3 separate regions of the Homo sapiens genome follow, and all the other regions are linked to region 2. The links are contacts of gene promoters, found by promoter capture Hi-C in human tissues and cell types (Jung and others, 2019). All regions are on one chromosome and are shown on one strand. The core of a region is centred on a gene start or on the middle of the fragment in contact, and the rest is flanking DNA. Distances in the headings are between cores, read along the strand shown. Region 1 holds the start of TTLL8 (tubulin tyrosine ligase like 8). Region 2 holds the start of MIOX (myo-inositol oxygenase). Region 3 overlaps MOV10L1 (Mov10 like RNA helicase 1).

Evidence for each region. Contacts are between HindIII fragments. The study calls those that stand out against the background at their distance.
Region 1: a contact is called between the fragment with the promoter of TTLL8 here and the fragment with the promoter of MIOX in region 2, in 2 of the 25 tissues and cell types used here (lymphoblastoid cells and mesendoderm cells).
Region 3: a contact is called between a fragment that was not itself captured here and the fragment with the promoter of MIOX in region 2, in 2 of the 25 tissues and cell types used here (lymphoblastoid cells and spleen).

The regions. Positions count from the first base shown.
Region 1 is chr22:50,056,809-50,061,246 of GRCh38, reverse strand. It overlaps TTLL8 (tubulin tyrosine ligase like 8), which reads left to right and starts at 2,949. Exons shown (of 14, transcript NM_001350317.3): 1 at 2,949-3,093; 2 at 4,274-4,378. The coding sequence starts at 4,312. It overlaps MLC1 (modulator of VRAC current 1), which reads left to right. Exons shown (of 12, transcript NM_015166.4): 12 at 1-1,856. The HindIII fragment of the contact is 29,458 bases long and covers 1-4,438 here.
Region 2 is chr22:50,485,305-50,490,030 of GRCh38, reverse strand. MIOX (myo-inositol oxygenase) reads right to left here and starts at 3,172. Exons shown (of 10, transcript NM_017584.6): 1 at 3,119-3,172; 2 at 2,566-2,646; 3 at 2,289-2,369; 4 at 1,983-2,145; 5 at 1,689-1,756; 6 at 882-991; 7 at 736-803; 8 at 585-634; 9 at 387-499; 10 at 1-283. The coding sequence starts at 3,133. The coding sequence ends at 175. ADM2 (adrenomedullin 2) reads right to left here. Exons shown (of 3, transcript NM_001253845.2): 3 at 3,594-4,726. The HindIII fragment of the contact is 6,574 bases long and covers 1-4,162 here.
Region 3 is chr22:50,095,718-50,100,165 of GRCh38, reverse strand. MOV10L1 (Mov10 like RNA helicase 1) reads right to left here. Exons shown (of 27, transcript NM_018995.3): 3 at 564-723. Among named protein-coding and RNA genes, the nearest start is that of MOV10L1, 7.9 kb to the right of the region's middle. The HindIII fragment of the contact is 9,728 bases long and covers 1-4,448 here.

The sequences.
Region 1 (4,438 bases), core at 1,700-4,199, 430 kb after region 2:
CTCTCATGGCTTGGGCTGGAGTGGGCTCTCTGGACCTGACCAGACTGTGGGTCCCTGCGTCTCCTGCCCACTCTGACCGGGCTTCCTCCCTCCACGCTTAGGGTCTGTCCCGGGTACTCAGTCAGCCCAGTGGGATCTTACCCACTTCCCTGCAAGGTGCACCTGCCCCAGGCTCAGGCTGCCCAGCGGCTCTTCCTGGACAGTGAGAGCAGGGCTGGGCGCCTCTGTCCTGGCCCGGGAGCCGCAGGGGCCCCTCCTCCAGAGCCTGGGCGCAAGCGACACAGGCTGCCGCTGCTCTCCCAGGTGAAATCCACACCAGTCCACGCCGGGTCGCCTGCCCTGTCTCCCTACTTAGACCCAGTCATTCTAGAGGGATCCACCGCCACACTGGCCGGCCCACGTCCTGGGTGCTGTCATGCCCAGCTTGGAGTGCCACGTGGCCGCTGCCCACGTCCCGGGCACTGTCATGCCCAGCTTGGAGTGCCACATGGCCGCTGCCCACGTCCCGGGCACTGTCATGCCCAGCTTGGAGTGCCACGTGGCCGCTGCTGTGACAGGCAGTGTTCTTGGGGGTGGGGCTGCATCCAAGGCTTTGTAAACCGGCTGGACCACGTCTCCCTGGCCCCAGTGACCGGGGGAAGCTGAGCCCCTCCCTCCTGTGTTTGCTCCCATTACTCAAAATGCAGGACAGATCAGGTCAGAGCCCAGGAATTCTCACAGGTTCACCCAGCGCCCTCTACCTCCTAGCAAGTACTTTGTCTTGATCCTCACTGAGAAGGCCCCAGGGCAGCGGTCTTCTCCATCTCCGCTGTTTTGGGGTCTTAGGGTACAGCCCAGGCGGTCACTGCCCACCTGCCAGGCTGCAGGGACAGTTGGGTGTGAGAATAACACTGGCTTTGGGTAGTGCCATGGCCAGGAGTGGGTTTCCCTGCGTCTCCTCGTCCCGAGGGCGCCTGGGTCCTCCCAGCTGACGGCAGTAAATCCACAGTGAGTTGGGGCGACTGTGAAACTGGAATGCTGTTACTTTGATAATTACTTTCCAGCAGGTGTTTTCCTTCACAATGGTTTTGTTTCTTTCCTTCTGATCTGAGAAGACATGAACGTTTTCTCTTCACCGCCGTGGGGTGTATTGACTGGTCCCCCATGGGCTGCTGGAAAGGCCCGGAGATGCATCTGTGGCCTGGGGCCATCAAGATCAAAGAACCAGGAGGCCTGGGAGATGCAGCTGGATGGGGCGGCCTGCAGACCCTGCCAGGGGGTTTGAGGACCCTCCCAGGTTTCCCACTGCGGAACAGGAGTGACTCTGGCTGCCAAGATACCTTCATGGTGTTCATGACAAGTGGAATCATTATTTTCAACCATTGAAGGGGGATGCAGGCAAGACACCTTCCCAGCTGCTCCTAGAGGGGACAAGCCAGGCCCTCTCTGCAGTCCTCGGCAGCTCCGGAAGGACACAGTCAGGGGCCGGGCAAACACTTTGGCCACAGCCCCAAACAAGCGCCACCGTGGGAGAGGAGAGGCTGCTGTCACTGGTACCGGATGCAGACCCCACCCTGTCTGCAGGCCACCCCCACCTCCCTGCAGCTTTGAGGCTGGCGGGGTCTGCTCCTGGGAATGGGGTGGGAGCCACAGGGACGACCCGGGGCGGGCTGATGTCTTCTTGGGGGCAGACCAGAGAGCTCAAGTTTCAGAGTCAGAATTAGGCACTTGGAGCGTTTTTGCTGGCTTGCACTTTCTTATTTTCTTATTTTAGAGCGCTTAAAAAATCCGGAAAAATGGGGTTTAAAAGAACTGTCTCTTTCAGTCTACATTTTTGTTTAATACGCTTGAGCAATAAACGCTGACTTGCAGACGTGGCTGTGGCTATTTAATATTGTGTCTCAGCAGCGTCAGCTCACTCAGGTCTAAAAACATCGGGACACAGGGAGGAGGGGCGGGTGGAGGGAGGGCCAGCTTTTCACTCACTGATTTGTGTAACCCCTAGAGGCCAGTACTGGGGTCTGGTGAGAGCCCAGTGGCATTCCCCGGGGAAGAGGGAGGGAGCTGGAAGGGAACCACCCCCGCCAGGGGACGCTCCCACTCCCCCCCTTCAAGTCCCCCACCAGCCCCTTCAGAGTCGGGGCAGAACCTCCCTTTTGGGGTGTCTTGGGAAGTTAAATGCAAAATAAAGTTGATTTAAAACCAAATGAAGACATCTAGGCTTTGGAAAGTTGCCAGGAGTGAGGGTCCTGGTGGGGCAGGTGTGTCTTTCCTACCCCCACTCCGAGATGCCAGATCAGACACGAGCTGCCCTGGCGGGGTGATCCGCGGGGTGCGGGGGGAAACGACAGGGGCCGTGTGGACCTGGGTGGGCTCAGAACCCCCCGGGGGGCAGCGGCGTGGGACCCCACGAGTGGTTCTGCGGATACCAAGGCCCTCCCAAGTTCCGCCGCAGGACGGGGGGCGCTGATACGGTCACCCCGTCGCCCCCATCCGCCAGGACCCGCAGCGCGCAGCCCGGGAGGAGCCCAGCGCCCGCGGCCTCCTCACCCCGCCGCTCCAGCCTCGCGTCGGGGAAGGGCCCAGGGACAGAGGGCGGCATGAGGGCCCCGGGGAGGGCGAGAAGGCCTGGCGGGCCTGGGGGGCCCGAGGGGGAGGGGCAGGATGTGACCCGCGGGTCTTTGTGACCTGGTGGGGGATGGAGTGTGACCTCCACAGGGGGGCGCGGGGCCGCAGCGCGTGACCCGGGGCTACACTCGGGCCCTCCCCCGGCGGACACCATGGCGCGCACCGTCCCGCGCCGCCGACCCCGCAGCCGCGCCTGCTCCGACAGCAGCCCGGGACCCGGACCCCAACCCGGGCCCAGCCCAAGCGCTGATGACTGCTGCCCGTCGGGGCCCGCGCCCCCCGCACGCCGCAGCTCCCCGCGCCCCCGCGCCCCCCGCCGCCCGCGCAGCCCCACGCCCCGGGGCCGCCGCCGCTGCACAGCCCGAGGCCACGGGCCCAGCAGCCGCCGCACCGGGGGTGCACAATGCGCGTGGCCGCCCCAGCACGTTGTCCCAGGCAACCCCAGGAAGCCGGGCGGCGCAGCGCGAGCCACTGACCCGGTCCCCGGTGAGCACGACCCCCGACCGCGGAACCCCAGGCCCGTCCGCGCTTCCGATCCCGGACAGGACCCCTCCTCCCCATCTGCCTTCGGAACCCCAGACCCGCCTCCCACACCCGGAAACCCAGGCCTACCCCCTCCCCGCCCCGGGCCTCCAAATTCTAGACCCCTTACCCTAGGAATCCCAGACCCGCCTAGCTCGGAACCACAGAACTCCCCCACTAAACCTGCCCAACTCTACCCACTCGCCCGCCCTCGAAAGCCCAGAGCTGTTCTCCCCACCTTCCCCCATCTTCTGGGAACTCCACAGCTGTCCACTCCCCTCTGCCTTCAGAACCCCATACCTCTCCTCATTAACCTAGACCTGCACCCCCAACCCAGACCTCCCCCTCGACCTAGACCTGATCCCCAATTGAGACCTGATGCCCACAACCCAGACCTGACCCCCAACCCAGACCTGACCCCGACCCAGACCTGACCCCAAAAACCCAGACCTGATCTCCCAACCCAGACCTGACCCCAACCCAGACCTGACCCCCAACCCAGACCTCCCGCTCAACCCAAACCTGACCCTCAACCCAGACCTGACCCCAACCCAGACCTGACCCCCAACCCAGACCTCCCGCTCAACCCAGACCTGACCCCCCAACCCAGACCTGACCCCAACCCAGACCTGACCCACAATCCAGACCTGATCCCCCAACCCAGACCTGACCCCCAACCCAGACCTGACCCCCAACCCAGACCTCCCGCCCAACCCAGACCTGACCCCAACCCAGACCTGATCCCCCAACCCAGACCTGACTCACAACCCAGACCTGACTCACAACCCAGACCTGACACCAAACCCAGTCCTGACCCCCAAACCCAGACCTGACCCCCAAGCCCAGACCTGACCCCAACCTAGAACTGATCCCTCAACCCAGACCTGATCCCCAACCCCAGAGCTGACCCCTAATCCAGACCTGACCCCCAACCCCAGACCTGACTCCCATCCCCAGACCTGACCCCAACTCAGACCTGACCTCCCAACTCCAGACCTCATCCCCCAACCCAGACCTGATCCCAACCCCAGAGCTGATCCCCAACCCCAGACCTGACCCTCAGCTTGGGCCTCAGAACCCTCTCCATCCCCAGAGCCCCCCACACCCTCCCAGTTTCCTGTAACCACCACACCCTCTCCTCTAGGGGTCAGAGGAGCAAAGGGCAAGCTGTCGGAGGCCAGTATGGAACCAGAGAGGAAGGGGCTATCGTTGGCTTCTTCTTCAGATGGAGACGGGAGAGAAGAAAATAGTGGGTATCGTGTATTGCCTGTGTGCCAGCCACTCGCCCAGAGTGGCCCGGGCTCAGAGG
Region 2 (4,726 bases), core at 1,923-4,422:
CAGGTCTTTATTGACGCCAGGCACAAGTTGCCGTGAGGGGTGGCGACCCTAAGGGGGTGAGTGGGGTCCCCCACCGAGGTGAACCCTGATGGCGGCTGTTTGCCCAGGGCCAGGCCTCTCCAGGCAGGCGGAGGGCCAGGCCTAGGTCCAGCAGCAGCTTGGGTGGCAGGAGGGTCACCAGCTCAGGATGCCAGGGCAGTACTTGTCAATGAGCCCCTGGTAGTAGGGCCGCAGCTTGTCCACGTCCGGCAGGTCCGGGCACTTGGTGTAGAGGTCGAACTTGCTGCAGCAGGGAGGGGCGGTGAGCCCCGTGAAGAACCCCCAGGCCCCCCACCCAACCCCCTCTTTCACTCCCACAACACCCCTCGGCGGGTAGCGGGGCGTACTTGAACTCCCGCACCCAGGGCAGCATGGCCAGGTCCTGCTGGCTGCACAGCTGCTGGTAGTCGCGGCCCGTGTGCCAGGGGTAGAAGGAGTGGAACCGGATCATGTAGAAAGCCTGCGGGCAAGGCCACCCAGCGGCTCACTTGGGGCTGCAGGACCGGGCCTGGTGGACGGGCTGCGTTGCCCCTCCCCCCACCTACCTCAGGGGGCAGTGAGAACTTGTTAAACTTCATCACCTGGTACATGTACTCTGTGGGGAGAGGGTGTCACCAGCAGGCACTGCCTCTGCCCCACCGCCCCCCACCGTCCCCCACCGCCCCCCACCGCCCCACTGCCCGCCTCTGGCCTCACCATCATGGCCCCAGGACATGAGGACCCTGTCGAGCCCACAGTGGGGCTGATACATCCCGAGCTCTGTGCTGCAGTGAGATACCAGGGTGAGGAGGGCTCAGCAGCCGCCCAGGGAAGGGGGCCCAGCCCTCAGCAGCAGGGAGCACCTGTATCGAGGATCCTGGAGGTCAGGGTTGTCCTGGAAGGTGGAGTCGCAGAAAACCACGGAGGCCTGCGGACGGCATCCGACGGGGAAGGTGTCGCCGACGACAGCCCACTGCAGAGGGACAGGAGGGACGGGAGGCCATGGGGGGAGTGGGGGAAGGTGTCGCCGATGACCACCCACTGCAGAAGGACAGGAGGGACGGGCGGCCATGGGGGGAGTGGGGGAAGGTGTCACCGATGACTGCCCACTGCAGAGGGACAGGAGGGACGGGCGGCCATGGGGGGAGTGGGGGAAGATGTTGCCGATGACTGCCCACTGCAGAGGGACAGGAGGGATGGGAGGGACGGGAGGGACAGGAGGGACGGGAGGGATGGGAGGGACAGGAGGGACAGGAGGGACAGGCAGCCATGGGGGGCCGTGGGGGAAGTGGGGGAAGGTGTCGCCGACGACCGCCCACTGCAGAGTGACAGGAGGGACAGGCGGCCATGGGGGGCCGTGGGGGGAGTGGTGCGGGGAGGCCGTGGGGGGTGCACTGGCCTGTCCCCCAGGTAGTATCCCAGGCCAAGCACCGAGGCCACCAGAGGGACAGGCAGCCGTGGGGGGGGCCGTGGGGGGTGCACTGGCCTGTCCCCCAGGTAGTATCCCAGGCCAAGCACCGAGGCCACCAGAGGGACAGGCAGCCGTCGGGGGGCCGTGGGGGGTGCACTGGCCTGTCCCCCAGGTAGTATCCCAGGCCAAGCACCAAGGCCACTCCACCCCCACCTTGCCTCAACATGCAGCCTCCTCACCCTCCACTTCCAACTCTTACCTGGGGCTCCCCGAACAGGGCCAGGACCTTCCCCAGGTCGTGCAGGAGCCCGACGAGGTGGAACCAGTCTGGGAGGGGGATGGACAGGGCAGGTTGGGGACTGCAGGGGCCAAGGCAGAGGATGAGCAGGTTTGCGGGGCTGAGAGCCAGGAAGGGTCCAGGGCCTGCTCCCCAACCCAGGCAGGGCTGCTGGAGGAGGCCTGGGCCCACTACTGTCCCCTCCCACCCTACAGGCTGCTGCATTCTGCCCCTTGGAGGCAGCACCTGCCCCCCTGCAGCACAGCCAGGGCTCACCCTTGTCTGGGTGGGCCTTCCGGATGCCCTCCGCTGTCTGGAAGGCATGGAAGGAGTTGGGGAAATCTACGTCCGGGTCCGACTCATCCACCAGCCCATCCAGCAGGTCCACGGCCTCCATGACTGTCATTTTCTTGTAGGAGAAGCCCCCAAACTGGGCATGCTGGCGGGGAAGGAGAAGGCAGTGTGGCCCAGGGTCAGCAGGCCCACCACACAGGCCTCTCCATCCCCTCGGCGCCTGGTGGGCTCATGGGGCTGAGGGCAAGGGTCCCTCCGCGTTTGCACGGGGCGGCAGGAAACGCCTACCTTGCTCCTGACGAAGTCCACTGTCTGGTGCGTGTGCATGAGCTTGTAGGTGGTGAAGACACGGTCCAGGAGGGGACCTGACTGCAGGCCGGAGGGTCAGTGGCGCCACCCCCACCCTGCACACGAGGCCCCATGCCTCCCCTCTCCCAGGCAGCCCCACAGGGTGTGATGGGGGTGGGAGTTCCCACAGGGCACCCCCTGGAACTGTGTGAAGGGCAAGTGCTGCTCCCCAGGGTGTGGATGGGGGAGAAGGGGGGCAGGACGGCAAGGTACTCACCGTGTAGTTCCGGAAGCTGGCCTTGTCTTTGGCCACCTCTGGGTCCACATCAGGTCGGTAGACCAGGGAAGGGTCTGGGCCCTGGGTAGGTGGAGGATTGAACCTATTTCACCATCATGTCAGCTCCACGAGGAAGCACAGACATTCCCAGGGTGGCTGCAGACTCCAAGCCTGCCTCTGCTCGAGGGCTGGTGGGTGACACGCGAGGACACAGCCTCTCCCACGCCATCATCCCAGCCCCTGCCCTGGCCTCAGCGAGTCCCAGGAGCTCTCACTCCCAGGTCCTCATCTGCAAAGCGAAAGTCAGCAGACGTCTGCTTCCGGGGTACAGGGGACACCACGCCTGAGCGGCACCCATGGCCACCCTTGAGGGGTGGAAGTGGCTTTGGGAGGAGACTGAGTCCACAGGGAGCCTGGGGGTCGGCAGCCGCTGGCTCTTGCCCAGCTGGACGGAGGAGGAGGGCTGGCCAGTGCCAGCTAGAAGAGGGCGGGAGTGGCTGGCCACCAGGAGAGCAGTCAGCAGAGCCTCTCTGCATGGGGTCTGGGTACTCACCACCGTCACCTTCATCCTGAGAGGGAGCGGCGCTCAGGTGGCAAAGCACAGGCTGGCGAGTGTGTCCTCAGCCAGGCTCCTATATACACCCCAGGTTACATAAGTGTCCGCAGTAATAAATGACCATCCACCCTCCTCCCGGCCTCAGGGAGTTAATGTGTCAGCACAGCAGCAGCCCCCAGCAGTCCCACATCCTCTGGCCCTGACTCAGCCTCACACTCCTGTCCCGAGCCGCTGACCTGCCTAGGGTTATCTGTGGGCCCAGCCTCCCACTTGGGCCCTGGCCTTAGACCCCTCTGTGGGGTCCCACAAGTAGGGGCAGACCCAAGACCCCACCCTCAAGCACACGCCCCCTCTGCACCACCCCTTCCCCGGCTGCCCCACTGGATCTCAGGAGGTGAAAACTTGTCCCCAGGCCCCCCGTGATTCTGGGTGGGGCAGGAGCTTGTTAAGAAAAGATGATTCTGAGGACTTGTTAAAATGGTGAGAAAAGCTTTATTCAAGAGAGTGGTGAGAGGAGCTCACCTCCGAGTTCAACAACCACAGCTGGAGATTGATGGCGTTGGAGGGGTCAGCGGATGGGAAGTTGTTAGGGCGGCCTTCGAGGGTAGGGGGATTCTCACTGGAGTGGCTCAATGAGGATCTTGCAGGAGGCCGGCAGGGTGATGAGATCAAGGGTGGGAGATGAGGAATGGGATCAGATATCGAGGGTGGGTAATTCTCCATAAACTGATTTAGAGGATTCTTGCTAACACCGGGGTCGGCGGGCCCAGCGAGGATGGGGATGGGGTCAGGCCTCGTCGAGGAAAGGACTCAGGGGCACCTGCCTAGAGTTCGGCCACAGAGTGTGTCAGGCTCTGGGAGAGGGGCCTCACGGAGAGTTGGAGCAGGCACGGAACCGCCAACACCCAGGCCGCCAACGCAACTTCCCATGCATGGGCCCTGCAGGCATGGAGGACACCGTGAGAACAAAGTGCCCGCGGCAGAGCTGGCGTCTTGGAGCGTGGCCAGGGAAGTCTGGGAACAGCAGTCGGCTGGGGCAGGAGAGAGGGCAGTGGGGTGCTGGGGCCATACCTAGGGCTGTGAAGATCAGAGTTCTGGGCTTCAGGGGTCAGGCAAGAGGGCTGTGGGCAGCTGACCTGACTCAACAAGATCCTGGCACAGCTGAGCTGAGAAGCAACTGTGAGGAGACCCCAGCGCCCCCCATTTAAACGGCACCTGCCCCACACTCTCCTTCCTTGTCTGACTTCCTGTGGCACTCAGCACTCCCTGCCACTCCACCACCCACTTATTCTACCTTCTACGTTTGTCTCCTTCTATCTCCCCCTAGAATGTCAGCCCCTGGGGGTCAAGGCTGTATCCTCACGTGTCCCAACACGGGTAGGTCACGTGCTCAGCATGCACTGGCCAGAGGGATGCAGACAGGTGCCTGGGAGGAGGCTACGGCCATCGCCCCGAAAGCAGGTGGTGCCTGGGTCAGGAGAAGGTGTCTGGATAGGTTCAGGAGGTGGGACCGGGTGGGATTCAGAGGAAGGTGTGAAGGAAGAGAGGAGGTTTTTTTTTTTTGAAACGGAGTCTTGCTCTGTCATCCAAGCTTGAGTGCAGCAG
Region 3 (4,448 bases), core at 218-2,717, 390 kb after region 2:
CAAAAAATTAGCTGGGCATGGTGGTGCACACCTGTAATCCCAGCTACTCAGGAGGCTGAGGCAGGAGAATCAATCAAACCCAGGAAGCAGAGGTTGCAGTGAGCTGAGATCATACCACTGCACTCCAGCCTGGGCAACAGAGTGAGACTCCATCTCGAAAAACAAAAACAAAAACAAAAACAAAAAAAACAAAACAGTGACCTGGTGCCCTCTCCCATAGTCCACTCAATATCCAAGAGCCTCTGTGTGAAGCCAGCACCTGGAGAAGCTACTCTAATCCCGAAACCCTCTCAACAAACAAAGCATGCCCAAAACTGATCCCTTCAATGTTGTGTGTAGCCATCACAAATATAGACACAGGGTTGTGTTCTGTCACCCAGGCTGGAGTGTAGTGGCTGGATCATAGCTCACTGCAGCCTCCAACTCCTGGGCTCAAGCGATCCTCCTGTCTCAGCCTGACAAAGTGCTGGGATTATAGGCATGAGCCACCGTGCCTGGTCCATAACAATTCTTTAAAAGACAAAACCTAATTTTCAATGTGGAACACAGACCCCTGAGCATACCTTCGCACACACTCTCCAGAGAGAAGTAGGTGGTCTGACTGATACAGCCTGCGCCCTCCACCAGGGAAGTCACACAGCCAATCAACACTCGGGGGCCGCAGTCTGAGGGACTCCCATGGTTTCTGCTGTCGTCTTCCCACTTATCAGAGACAGCTTCTACCTGTAAAACAAACACACCGCTCTAAACCATAATACGAGAACTACAAGAAAAGCAAACTACAGGCTGGCATGCCTGTCTGAGACCATTAGGGCTGCAAGTCCAAGATCAAGGCCCTGGCAGATTCCGGGTCTGGTGAGGGCCTTCTTCCTGGTATACCGTCGGTGTCTTCCTGCTGTGTCCTCACATGGCAGAAAGGGCAAAGGGGTTCTCTGGGGTATGTTTCATAAGGGCTCTGCCCTTGTGACCCAGTCACCCACCAAAGCCTCCTAATAAGATTCCACTGGGGTCAGGATTTCAACATACGTATTTTGGGGGACACCAACATTGAGTCTATAGCAATCCCTTATGAACACTGATGCAAAAATCCTCAATGAAATATTATCAAACCAAATGCAGCAGCATATTAAAAGGATTATACCCCATGACTAAGTGGGGTTTATCCCAGAATGCAAAAGTGTTTCAACATATGAAAATCAGTCAACATATTACATTGATAAGATGAGGGAAAAAATCACGATGATCTCAACTGATGCACAAAAAGCATTTGACAAAATCAACACTTTTTATGATGCAAACACTCAATAAACTAGGAATCGCAGGAAATCTCTTCAACACGAGAAAGGCCATAAACAAAAATCTCACAACAAACACCACACTCAATGGTGAAAGGCCGAAAGCTTTCCCCTAAGATCAGGAACCAGGCAAGGATGCCCATGCTTACTTCAAGACTTTCAAATTTCAATTATCTTTATTCACAGATGGTAGGATCTCATCTGTGGAAAACTCTAAAGATTCCACACACGTAAATGAAACAAAAAATGGTTAGAGCTAATAAATGAATCCAGCACAGGACACAAAGTCAACATACAAAAATCAGATTTCCATACATTTGCAATGAAAAATCCAAAAAGGAAATCAAGAAAAATGATCCAAAGAAAGGGAAAACAATTCCATTTATAACAGCACTGTTAGGTTAATAGGTTAATTCCTCAGAACACTTAGTAACCTAACTAAGGAGATGGAAGACACGTAAAATGACACTAATGAATGAATTAAATACCTCAATAAACAGCAAGACAACCGCGTTCATGAATTGGAAAACCTAATATTATTAAAATGACAATCTTAAGACTTAATTATTAAGATGATAATACTACTCAAAGTGATTATGTGATTATTAAGATGTTAATCTTAATAATTATTATTAAGATGTTAATCTTAATACTTAATTATTATTAAGATGACAATCTTAGACTTAATTATTAAGATGACAATACTACCCAAAGTGATCTATTACACAAATTCAGGTTGGGTGTGGTAGCTCATGCCTGTAATTCCAGCACTTTGGGAGGTTGAGGCAGGTGGATCACTTGAGGTCAGGAGTTCAAGACCAGCCTGGTCAACATGGTGAAACCCCATCTCTACTAAAAATACAAAAAAAATTAGCTGGGTGTAGTGGCAAGCACCTGCAGTCCCAGCTACTTGGGAGGCTGAGGCATGAGAATTGCTTGAACCAGGGAGGCGGAGGTTGCAATGAGTCAATATCACATCATTGCACTCCATCCTGGGTGACAGAGCAAGACTCTGTCTCAAACAAACAACAAAAAAACCCAACAAATGCAACGCAATCCCTATCAAAGTCCTATGGGTCTATTTTTATATAAATAGAAAAACTCATCTAAAATTCTAATGGAATCTCAAGGGACCATGAATAGGCAAAATGGTCTTGAAAAGGAGTAACAAAATTGAAGGTTTCATACCTCCTGATTTCAAAACTTCCTACAAAGTTACAGTCATCAAACTAGTGTGGCACCAGTGTAAGGACAGAAATATAAACCAATGGAATAGTAAAGAGACCCAGAAATAAACCCTTGCATGTGCAGTCAATTGATTTTTGACAAGGACCATTCAATAAACTGCAATTGTGCAGTCTCAAAAAAAAATAGTGCTGGGAAAATAACCATGGGCAAAATAATAAAGTTAGACTCTCGTTTTACACCAAACACAAAAATTAACTCAAAATGGATTAAAGAGGCCAGGCGTGGTGGCTTACCCCTATAATCTCAGCATTTGGAAAGGCGTGGGATGGGCGGATCACTTGAGCCCAGGAGTTCGAGACCAGCCTGGGCAACATAGAGAGGCCCCATCTCTACAAAAAATACAAAAATTGGGTGAGGCAGCACACACCTGTAGTCCCAGCTGCTCAGGTGGCTAAGGTGGAAGGATCACTTCAGCCTGGGAGGTTGAGGCTGCAGTGAGCTGTGACTGTGCTGCTGCACTCCAGCCTGGGCAACAAAGTGAGATCCTGTCTCAAAAAATTTTTTTTAATGAATCAAAGACTTTAATTTAAAAGCAAAAACTATAAAACTCTTGGTAGAAAAAAATCTTCATAATCTTGGATTAGTCAATGGTATCTTGAGTGTGACATCAGAAGTACATGCAATAAAAGAGACAAATTAGACTTCCACCAAAATTTAAAACATCTGTGCATCAAAGGATACCATGAAGAAAGTGAAAAGACAATTGATAAAATGAGAGAAAGTATTTGCAAATCATGTATGTGATGAGAGATTAATATCCAGAATATATAAAGAATTCCTACTACAAGAAAACAACCTAATTTCAAAACGGGCAAAGGATTTGAGTAGATATTTCTCCAAAGAAGATATATAGATGGCCAATAAGCACATGAAAAGATGCCCTCACAAATCATTAGGGAAATGCAAATCAAAACCACAGTGAGATACTACCTCACAACTACGAGGAATAGCTACTGTCAAAAGAAAAAAAAAGAAAAAGAAAATAGCAAGTGTTGGCAAGGATACAGAAAAAGTGGCAGCCTCATGCACTGTTGGTGGGAACATATAACGGTGCAGCTGCTGTGGAAAACATCTGGTTCCTCACAAAGTTAAACCTAGACTTACCATACAGCCCAGCAATTCTCTTCCTAGGCGTAGCCCCAAAAGAACTGAACAAGGACTCAGACAGACTTGTTCATGGCAGCACAATTCACAACAACCAAAAAGTAGAAACAACCCAAGTGTCCATCAACAGATGAATGGAGAAACAAAATGTGATTTATTCACACAATGGAATATTCAGCCATAAAAAAGGAATTAACTTTTGATACATGCTACATGGGCAAATCTTGAAAACAGAAGTCAAATAGCCAGACACATGATTCCGCTTATATGAGGTATTTAGAATGGGCAAATTCATAGAGACATAAAGTAGAACACTGAATAACTGTTTAATGGGTACAGAGTGTCTACTGGGATGCTGAAAAAGTGCTGAAGACAGATTGTGGTGATGGCTGCGCAACAATGTGAACGTGCTTAATGCCACTGAACCGTACATTTCAATATGGTTAAAATGGTATATTACGCATATTTTACCACAAGAAAAATATCTAAATAAAAAATAAATCCAGAAGTACATTCAGGTTTATACCAAATGGGGATCATTCCCATCAAGTGAGAACGGCTCACAACACAGAAACTGTATTTTCCACCATATTAATAGCAAAGGGACAGAAACTATGGGATCATTTGGAAGATACTGAAAAGTACTTGAAAAATCCATTACTAATTTATAAAAGCAAGATTGTGAGTAGAGATGAACCCTCTTCACCATAACAAAAAAGGTCCTGCATTCCTTACAAGATGGAACAAGTGAAGGGCAGCTGACCACCAAGAGGGCTGGGATTTGCTGGACACCCAGGGGCC